Regions from separate parts of the Homo sapiens genome. Here region 1 is linked to region 2. The links are contacts of gene promoters, found by promoter capture Hi-C in blood cells and fetal thymus (Javierre and others, 2016). All regions are on one chromosome and are shown on one strand. Each heading gives the region's core, a stretch centred on a gene start or on the middle of the fragment in contact. The rest is flanking DNA. Distances are from core to core; before and after follow the strand shown.

What was found. The method cuts DNA at HindIII sites, captures the fragments that hold promoters and counts their contacts. A CHiCAGO score of 5 or more calls a contact.
Region 1: a contact is called between a fragment that was not itself captured here and the fragment with the promoter of GSPT2 in region 2, in 2 of 17 cell types (non-activated CD4 T cells and M0 macrophages). The highest score is 9.1, in non-activated CD4 T cells.

Annotation. Positions count from the first base shown.
Region 1 is chrX:52,270,828-52,276,671 of GRCh38, reverse strand. No RefSeq gene overlaps it. Among named protein-coding and RNA genes, the nearest start is that of MIR8088, 63 kb to the left of the region's middle. The HindIII fragment of the contact is 2,219 bases long and covers 1,833-4,051 here.
Region 2 is chrX:51,741,618-51,747,243 of GRCh38, reverse strand. GSPT2 (G1 to S phase transition 2) reads right to left here and starts at 3,802. Exons shown (of 1, transcript NM_018094.5): 1 at 1,012-3,802. The coding sequence starts at 3,617. The coding sequence ends at 1,731. The HindIII fragment of the contact is 6,668 bases long and covers 1-4,443 here.

The DNA of each region.
Region 1 (5,844 bases), core at 1,693-4,192, 530 kb before region 2:
GCTTGTTAAGTATATTATTTGATTAATAATTTGCAGACTGACAGCTATAATGCATCCCCAGCATATGGACTTAGCCTCTCCAGGATCTCCATCATCCATGTATATCCCGCCTTGCCCTCCTTCCTTTTAAGCTTCAGCCTCATGTTCGCCACCTATAGCTTTCAGAGCCCCTTCACCAGATTTCCTTCAGGAATTAGCTCAAGCAGACTGGCCCATACAGGCAGGCATGGACTGGAATTTCAGACCAGACTTTGTAGAATCTAGGCGCCACTGCCACCTTCCTGCTCCTTACGTTTATGAACTAACTGCAGCATTAGGAGCTATTGAAGGTTTAGTTGAAAGTGTACACCCCAATGACTGCATAAGTCTTGCTTGGCTACTAACCTATTATATAAGTTGCATTGCTAAACTGCTTAATAAGAGAGGACAGACCCCATAGAACTACCTTACTTTGTTCTACCCCAACCTAACCCAGCAGCAATACTACTACTGGAAGCAATCTTTGACTATACTACTTAGAGAAATATTAGGATGACATAGATTATTATATCTTAGTTTGTTTTCAGTGCTATATTTAATGCCTATACATCTGATAATTAATAGCAAACATAAGATTGATGCAAATAGCTTAAAATATGTTAGGAGATATAGAAGGGAAATAACAGATACTACTACTACTACTACTACTACTACTACTACTACTACTACTACTGCTACTACTGTTTATTCCTAAAGTAACCATTAAAATTTCTGAGCCTCAAACACATACATATCCAACAGTGCCAACTCATACAGCACCTAAAATCACACGATTACCAGAACAAATTCCGCAATATATACTTCATGAAAATATATCATTTTTGAACAATTGTTAGAAAGTCAAGGGACTGATAAAAGAATACTTAGAGCTTCAATTAGACTATTTTGTTCATATTCATTTGACCCAAAGCAATGCCTGAAGAGCTTTTAGCTTTTACACACACTTCCAATCATTGTATCTTTATAGAATCTTTGCGCATATTCCTAAACATACTTTAGAAGAATGCATAAATGACATGACTAAATGTGACACCCCAACTTATGCAGCTACAATGAAGCATTCAATAACATCTCAAACCATGGATGGCTCACATAATAGGTAGAGAAATGCTAATAGAAACAGACATGCCAATCAAAACAGTTCATTACATAAGAAGCGCTATATCATACCAATCCCCAATCATAGTACCACAGATAGAACCATATGTTGGAAGATCTCACATGACATGCTTGGATATGATACGACACTCCTACAAGTCATTTGTTAATAGTTGGTATGAATTCTGGTACCAATCTGGACTTGAAGGAAATGAACATTATGATTATGAAGTAGATTCAAGGGATGACACAAGACTAAATATAGCTACAAAACCAACCACTTCATCTTACACCCATATATCAGACCCCCACAGGAAAAAGTGTCAATGCCACTAGGATATCCATTAGATTATGATATAATAACAACAGAAGAGGATAAGACATACTATAACTATCATCTAATTAACTTTCCTAACTTGCTGTTTTTTGGAAATTTTGCCTTCACCCACCCTGTTCATCTTATGATTATTACGCAAAAAGCCAAAATTATTTGACAGTCTCACAATTCTTCTTTTTTCTTTTTATTAGACAAAAGAGAGCTGGAGTAACAATTCTTTAATAAGGCTAAAAAATTCTCACTGGCAGAATTATATTGAAAACATAGATGACACCCAGTAATCTTAACTAATGCTGACTATCACTTTACACACACTACCTTTGAAACACACACTAAAACAATGTATGTAGATAAAGCTTGTCTTGAATACAAGTATACTTATACTTGCCCTCCACAAATAAGGAACTTATAAAGATAAAAAATAGAATCAACACTACCCAACAAGATATACATTTTGAGGGACAACCAACATTAATATGCTTTAACCTTAACTTTACATATATTAAAGCTACATTTCATTATCCCACGGATGAAAACCTTATCCTTGCCCATTCTACACTATAAGTTGCTTACTAACATGGTTACACGTTCCAAGATCAACAGGCTTTACAAAACAAAACAAACCAACAGACACAGCACAATTCAGACTTTGGCATAATAAAACACATGCTAAATTTACAACATTAAATGGCAAACTTGGCTACAATATATCAAAACTACCTTTACACAATAAGCAAAGAGTTTATAGAGAATGTAGACAGATATGTTATCATAACTGGAAAGTCCACTCTATGGTGGAATGTGACAGAAACCAAAGCAGGCTTATGTTGGACACAACCACAAAAACCACACTAGTTCCCAGTCATCACAATAGATACAATGACATAGAAAATCCCTACTAAATTTACTGATTGCTGGATGTCGACATCTTCTAGAAACCCATGGACATTAGAAACTGGACATTAGAAACAGTTATTTTTGATAAATTACAACAAACAAAATGGGAACAATTAATATTCACATCTACTCACAGACCAGATATATACAATCTGCTATTATCTAACTCACTCTTAGTACTTGGACCATTCACACTGACCTACAAAACAGCAGAGGTTATTGGCACATTCTTTACAGGAAATGAACCAAGAGACATAACTATATTAGACAAATTTACCAGGAAAACTAAGTATATACAAAATCAAGTTATTTTTACAATGTATCCACTGGTAATTCAGGATGATGTAAACTTTAATTTTGAAGATGTAGATAGAAACAATACACAATTTAAGTCAATTAACTGGTGGGAAACACTAGGAACCAAAATAAATATGGATAAAGTCACAAAAATAGACTCAGGTATGTCAAATTACTTTTTCTTCATGATTCAGCCATTTGATGGATCATAGAATAAAGTTATATGGTCAGTCCAACATCCTATTTATCAAAATATAGCCAAACTAGACTCCCACTTACCTGTATTTGTAGCTAGAGATATCTCTTTTGCAAAATGCTATGTTAAACCCCAGAACCTTGGGCCATGCATAATTCGCAGAGGATGCTGGACTGACACATTGCTTAGGAACACACCACTGGACACCACAGTGTACCAAAGGAATAACAAACCCTCTATCTAAATTATGAAAACCAAATTTAGTTGAACCTATCCTAATTAACCCATTAAGATTAATTTACAAACCAGCACCTAGGAGAGTCAAAATATTTTTCAAAAAAGAACTTAAAGTCACATACATCAAACCACAAGTTATGTAATTTGAGGGACAAGGATATGACAAGCAGTTCATTTTACCAAATTTACCTTCACTAGATAAATATCATCTAAGAAAACCACCACAACTATTTGCAGCAATTGGAATTATTTCAAACTCAGTCATTTCAGGAATACAAGAAGCAAAAATTTAGGAAGTTAATACAGACCTATGAACATAAACGTAACTCCTGCAAACAACTACCACATCTATACTTTCATCTATCTCATAGGCAATTAACGAGATATAGTCAATGATGACTCATACACACGACCTCCCAGAATCCCAAAAGGAATTCAATTACAATATTGATCACAAGTTAAACACCTAAAAACTAACCTATTTACATTAAGAAACTTTATGGTGAAAAACTTGCTGCAAACACAGTGTATTAGGCTAAGTATTTTACTAACTCAGACTTGGAATGACATAAGGAACATTATACACATCAGGAAAATTATTCACAGAAAATTGGGACAAAATGTCTATAGTTAAATTGGATACATCCAAAGCATCAGGATTCAGGGCAATGTATATTAAATCTACTTGAATTAAGAGGAGGAGACTCAATGGCATAAGACACAATGGCAATTACACAGAAAGATAAGACATAATCTACATATAACTGCCTTAGAAAGACCACTATTTATTGATGGTTATTTTATACAAAAAGAATTAATATTCCAATGATCAAACACTATATACTCTACCTGTCAGGACAAAGTTCCTAAACTAGATTACTCAACTATCAGCATCACGAAAATCCCCACAATGACTCTAGACTTATGAAACTTCAATTAGATAATAAGCTTAGAGAGGAACAACACACTGACCTATTATAACTGTGAACCCTGAATATCTGAGACAGGTCTCAGTTAATTTAGAAAGTTTATTTTGCCAAGGCTGAGCACACATGCCTGTGACACAGCCTCAGGAGGTCCTGATGACATGTCCCCAAGGTGGTCAGAGCACAGTTTGGTTTTATATATTTTAGGGGGACATGCAACATCAATCAACATATGTAAGATGAACATTGGTTCAGTCTGGAAAAGGCGGGACAACTCGAAGCAAAGGCTGGACAACTCGAAGCAGGGAGGAGACTTCCAGGTCATAGGTAGATAAGAGACAAATAAATGGTTGCATTCTTTTGAGTTTCTGATGAGCCTCTCTAAAGAAGGCAATCAGATATGCATTTACCAGGGTTATTCCTTGCTGAGAAAATAATTCAGCGATATTTCTCCTATTCACTTTCTGAAAGAAGAGAAATATGACTCTGTTCTGCCCGGCCTCACAGGCAGTCAGACTTTATGGTTATCTTCCTTGTTCCCTGAAAATCGCTGTTATCCTGTTCTTTTCAAGGTGCCCAGATTTCATATTGTTCAAACACACGTGCTTTTCAAACAATGTGTGCAGATAACGCAATCATCACAGGGTCCTGAGGTGACATACATCTTCAGCTTACAAAGATGACAGGATTAAGAGATTAAAGTAAAGACAGGCATAGGAAATTATAAGATTATTGATTGGAGAAGTAATAAATGTCCATGAAATCTTCACAATTTATGTTCAGAGATTGCAGTAAAGACAGGCATAAGAAATTATAAAAGTATTAATTTGGGGAACCAATAAATATCCATGAAATCTTCACAATTTACGTTCTTCTGCCGTGGCTTCAGCCAGTCCCTCCGTTTGGGGTCCCTGACTTCCTGCAACATCCATCTGCTGAGAACTTCCACTCAATAAAACATTGCATTCATTCTCCAAACCCACATGTGATCTGATTCTTCCAGTACACCAAGGCAAGAAATCCTGGCATACAGAAAGCCCTCTGTCCTCGCGATAAGGTAGGGAGTCTAATTGAGCTAACACAAGCTGCCTACAGATGGCTAAACTAAAAGAGCACCTTGTAACACACTCCCACTGGGGCTTCAGGAGCTGTAAGCATTCACCCCTAGACACTGCCTTGGGGTCAGAGCCCCACAACATGCCTGTCTGCATGCTCCCCCTAGAGGTTTGAGCAGCAGGCACTGAAGAAGCAAGCCACACCCACATCACATGCCCTGTGAGGGGATAAGGGAACTTTTCCTCTTTCACAAGGAAGCTCTAAGGAACTTCAACAAGTTCATGACACATTCCAAACAGAATTAGCACAATTAAAACACACCACTGAGGTAGTAACACATGGACTAGCAATACTAAACACAAATAAAATAGCATTCAAACTAGATGGCTTACACAGAAGATGCATCTTCTTCCAAATGATTAAGAAGACTTTTAGCCATACCCCTTATGAAGGCTCATGGTCAGACTGGAACCCAATCAATATATTAAAAACTGGACTCTGGAATTGGTCTAAATATATCTGTGAACATTTACAGAACGTTGTCATCTTCATTGTAAACATCCTCTTTGCTTACCATATACTTAAGATCTGCGTTTTCAGCCTTTGTAACACAAAATTGTAAACAAGTTACCAAGAGGAAATTAATTCCCATGGTGACTTGTCATTTTTTATTTTTGTAACCCCTTCCTCAAACATTGTTTGCATTATGATTACTAAAATCTTGGAGTAGATTGTATAGAGCACCCTTGACATAACTAACA
Region 2 (5,626 bases), core at 2,553-5,052:
GAAGGTTCTTTAGTTGTTGACAGTTATTTGCAGGTTATAAGGCCACTCTCTTGCCAATAAATGTAGCCACCTCAGAATCCATAATTGGTGTTTTCCTCAAGAAGTTGTTCAGAGAAGTATCCAGTGCCTCTGACCCCAAGTGTAGGTCATGATCTGAATTTAAAAATGACTTCCCACCTTTCCTATCAACCCAAGCATGAAAGAGACAAAGGTGACATCATCTCATTTCCCAGCCCAGGAGTCACTAATCCTTAGTTTTTACTCAATGACCAAAGGCCCCATTGCAAGCATTTATCTTCTCAATAGCCATACCCCTTATTGGGTTGTGACCCATATCACAAGTTTCATGGTGAACAAAACCAAGAGCTGTGTTTGTTAAGATGATGGAGTACAGTTAAGAGTCTAGCCAAGGCTGGGCACAGTGGCTCACGCCTGTAATCCCACCACTTTGGGGGGCTGAGATGGGAGGATTGCTTGAGCCTGGGAGGTTGAGGCTGCAGTGAGCCATGACTGCACCACTGCACTCCAGCCTGGGTGACAGAGTGAGACCCTGTCTTTTAAAAAAATAAAGAGTCTTGTAAACCTATGGTCCAAATCTCCTATAATTTGGCCATGCTTAACGTGATGGGACCTGATGGAATACAGTAAGTCCTCACTTAACATAGTCCACTGGTTCTTGGAAATTGTGACTTCAAGTGAAATAACATCTAACAAAATGAATTTTTCCCCTTATCAATGTCATAACTAAACAACATTGAACAATGTCATAACTAAACAACATTGAACAATGTCATAACTAAACAACATTGAACAAGGTCATAACAACATTGAACAATGTCATAACAACATTGAACAATGTCATAACAACATTGAACAATGTCATACATTGTGCATTGTTGTACGATGTACACCTGCTGTACATTGTTTTGCTTAATGTTGTAGTCTTCAAGAACCTATGGATAATGTTACATGAACTACTGCTATACAAATAAAGACGGCCTGAGCCTTTCATTTTCAAATCACAAGTGGGGAAGCAGAAGAGCTCCTTTATTGACTGGACTTGGACAGAGAAAACAAAGCCCACTGGGAAGAGCCTTAACATACGTTTTTTTCTCAAAATTAAAATTATTCCTTTAATACACACTTATGCATTGTTTGTAAATTCCTCACTTAAAACAGTAAGTGGTGAAGAGTTTTTAAGTTTTTAAGTGATAGAACATATTCAACTATTTGAGAAAGTAATAAAGCTAATTGAATAGCATTACATAATGACATTTAAACATTATTCAAAAGCATTTCAAATAACCGAAGAGTTTCAAATGGAGTATTTTATTCACATGTTAGTTATCATTTTAACACACACACAAACACTGACACACTCTGGTTTGCGTGGAACAAGGGTGGTCTAAATATCCTAAAAGAAAATGAAAAATTAAAGTACATTAATTTTTCATTACTGTAGGCAATTACGTCCACATCACTTACAAAGCTATTACTGATATTGTCCAAGGAAGCAGAGTGGTACAGAGGAAGGAAACTTGAGGGTAAATTCATCAGTGACATAACAGATCTCAACATGAGAAAGCTGACAAAACATGAATTTTTGCTGTGAAATTTCTCTTTGCAAAATATGAAGAAAAGTCAATCAATGGGCAGTAAATAAGAGTAGGTGGTGAACTTTTGCTGTCAATTCTCCTCACAGTATCTTGCAGAGGCATCAAGAAAATTGCTTAGTCCTTCTCTGGGACCAATTTCAGAACTTTTCCAATTGCAATGGTCTTACCCTCATCTCTTAAAGTAAAACGACCCATCTGAGGAAAATCTTTGAACGTCTCGAGGCAGATGGTTCCTGCTGTCCTTAAACGAGCAATGCATACTTGATCTTGTTTCACGAAGCGGGGTCGTGTCTTACTTTTTTCTCCTGATTTTTTGTCTACCAAGGAGATTAACGCTGTTATCTCAACTTCCTCAATACAAGTATGAATGTGCAGCACCGCATTATAACCTGGGCAGATGATGGATTTGTGCTCAATAATCACTATCTGAACATCAAACGTGCGTCCAGAATGGCAGAGGTTACTAGGATCACAAAGTATGAATCCTGGAAGAATCTCTTCTTCTTCAATTCCCTTCAGTCTGATTTTGAGGTTTTCACCTGGGGCTACAAAATCAGTTTCAGTATCATCAGAAAGTATTCCAAGAACTTCTACATTGTGCTTGTTTGGCATCATCACGAGCTGCTGGCCTTTAAAAATGGACCCGGATTCCAGCTTTCCCAGGACCACAGTGCCCATATCTTTGTACTTATCCACAATTGGCAGTCTTATTGGTCCATCAATTGATCTGTTGAAGTTTGGCAAGTTATCCAAATACGGAATAAATGGTAATCCAGTGTACCAAGGGCAGAAATCTGACTGCTCTTTAATATTTGCTCCGGTCAGTCCTGAGCAGGGCATAAAGTGAATGTCCTTTTTTGGACTGAAGCCTACTTTTTTCAAAAAGGGCACCAGTTTTTCTTTACATTCTTCATATCTCTCGATGCTCCAATTTACTGTGGGATCATCCATCTTATTAATAAGCACTATTAAATGTTTTACCCCTGCCGTTTTTGCCAACATCGCATGTTCTCTTGTCTGTCCACCTTTTTCAAATCCAGTTTCAAACTCTCCTTTCCTGGCAGAGATGACCAGCACAGCCAAATCAGCTTGAGAAGCACCACCAATCATATTTGGGACAAAACTCTTGTGGCCAGGGGCATCTAAAATTGTGAAATGTTTCCTTTCTGTTTCAAAATAGGCACGACCCACTTCGACTGTTTTACCCTTGTCTCGTTCCTCCTGATTTGTATCTAAGGCCCAGGACAAATACCAGGTTTCTCTGTTTTTTTCCTTAGCTTCTCTTTCATATTTCTCCAGTGTTCTTTTGTCAACCATTCCAGTCAAAAACATTATCTGTCCTCCGATGGTTGACTTGCCAGCGTCTACATGGCCAATGAATACTACATTTACGTGTTCTTTCTTAGGTGCACCTGAGGGTACGATCACAGATTTGGATTTTCTTATTTCCTCTTTTTCCTCCATCATTTCCTGGCCACTTTCTTCTGGGGGCCCTGAATCTCCCGAGGAACCACCCCCAGGCTCGGCTTCACTTACTTCTTTACTGTGCTCCCATGATTCTTCTAGGGCCATTTCCACCTCTCCATTTTCTACAACAGGTTCTGAAAGTTCCATGGTAACGGCTGAATTGGAACCTTCAAGCGACACTAACGGTTCCTCTCGGGAAGGTTCCACAGGTGCCCCCCGTCCCATCCTTTTACCTTGAGGGTATCCCGCGCCGGTGCAGGTTTCATCGTTGCTGCCGGAGCCGGCCGGGAGGGTGGGCGGCTGAGTCGGGCCCCGCAGGAAGGACGGCACGAACTCCGCGGCGTGTACGTTAGGCACGAAGGGCTTGGCGTTGACGTTGAGCTTACGGCTGAAAGCCGAGCTGAGGGGCTCGCGCTGGGCCTCGGCCACCGCAGAGGAGACTCCATCCCCGCTCGGGGCCGACCCCGGGGATTCCATGTCCACCTGGTCCCAGCAATCGGGCGCCGAGTCGCTGCTGCTGCTGCCCGAATCCATGGTCTCGGAACTTGCTGTGTGGCAGTGAGGGAGCGGGCTCAACAGGCCAGAAGAGCGGGCTCCGCCGGCGGGGTTAAGGCAGCAAGAGCGAAGGGCCAAGGGGTAGCGACACGAACCTTAGCTGCACCGCGGAGGCAGCTAAGCGCCGATGCTGCATTCGCAACTGCGGCGGCAGCAGCAGATATGGCGGCTCAACACTCTCCTCTTGTGTGTGAGCGGATCTCCTCCCCCAAACCCCAACCACTTCCGACTCCTCCACCCCCGACCCAACGCCGGGCGTGGATTGACCCCTCGCTGCTATCCGTACGCTTGGCTTCCTTACTTCTTCTTAGCCACGGGCTAAGTCCAAAAGTATTATTTTTTAAAACGAAAATTTCCATTCACTTTTTTGTTCACACAGTCTGGCAGAGCAATTTGACCACAATCTGATGATTAAACCTAGACAGGAACACATGGTATACAATTCTACCAAAAGATTCAAGTAAAAGTGATCATTTCTATTGAACAAATGGGAGGCAAGATAAGGGTTAACTATACAGAAATTCAGAAACCCAGCAACTGAAGGGAGAGGCAAGGAATGGGTAGGGAGGGACTCATGAAATATATGAGTCTGTAGCCGAACTTAGGAAATGCAACTTAAGATCACTCATTAATTTGAAATCCACAGGCCTTTTGATTTTCCCTTTCCAGTGGGCCCCCATAAGCCTGTAACTTCTGCTGATGGCTTCTATAGTTTAAGGATAGGGTTACAACTTCTTTTCATGTTAAGCACCCTGGCTGTCTGAGGGGAGAGAATTTCCAAGGAGATCCTTGTTCCAGTGAAGCTTCCAGTCACTTCATATGCAGATGCCTGCACAATGGCTGGCCTGCCATTCAATGGTGGATCACGTAGACAAGCACAGGACTCAGATCACTCTTGTTTTACCAACCAACTGAATTCTGGGTTTATCTGCACTACTCCCCAGCACCTCCCTAGTACATCCTGCATCCACAGGCCTCGGGTTTTCCTGCTTCATTCCGGGGGGCCTGGAATCCTACTCACTGCACTGGCTTTGCTCTAAGAAACAATCAGTGTCATGTTGAACCCCTCTACAGTTTATGGTAATGAGACAGGGCTGTAGGTGTCAGCCTAATTAAACCAATTAAGACTTCTGAGATGAACAAAGACCTTAAGACCCTAATCAAAAGAATCTCACTCTCAGAAAGTGTTAACAGTTGAGTCAAAGCCTCAGCGACCTTGTTTGTAAATTAATTTAGTGCAAACTGACATAGAAAATACAAACTTATTCTCTGAATCTGTTTTTAGTCTTCATGTACTCAAATCTGTCACCTTTTGCTTTTATGAATTCAGGTTTTGTGACATACCTAGAAAGACTATTCAGTCCAAACAATCTGCTTAGTACAAGATGGTGTCACATAGATGGATTTATTTTTTTATTTTGAGACAAAGTTTCACTTTTGTTGCCCAGGCTGGAGTGCAGTGGCATGATCTCAGCTCACTGCAACTTCTGCCTCCTGGGTTCAAGCAATTCTCCTGCCTCAGCTTCCTGAGTAGCTGGGATTACAGGCGTCCGCCACCAAGCTCAGCTAATTTTTCTTAATATATATTTTTAGTAGAGACAGGGTTTCACCATGTTGGCCAGACTGGTCTTGAACTCCTGACCTCAGGTGATCCACCTGCCTCGGCCTCCCAAAGTGCTGGGATTACAGGCATGAGCCACCACGCCTGGCCTCATAGTTGGATATTTAAATCCAACAACAAAGCAAAATATTATAAAACCAAGTACCTGATTATAACTTGAGAATTGTGTTCTCCAGACTTTAGGGGTAGGAAAAAAGACAGACTTGGACCCTTGATGTTTTCACTCTGGGGCTGCCACTATTATACTAGCTCTGTACTGTTTCCACACCTTCATTCTTTTTGCCTCCGGTTATGGATTAATTATTTACAGTGACATAAAGAGAATGTGCACACCTATTCACAATAAACAGGAAGAACTGAGAGGTAG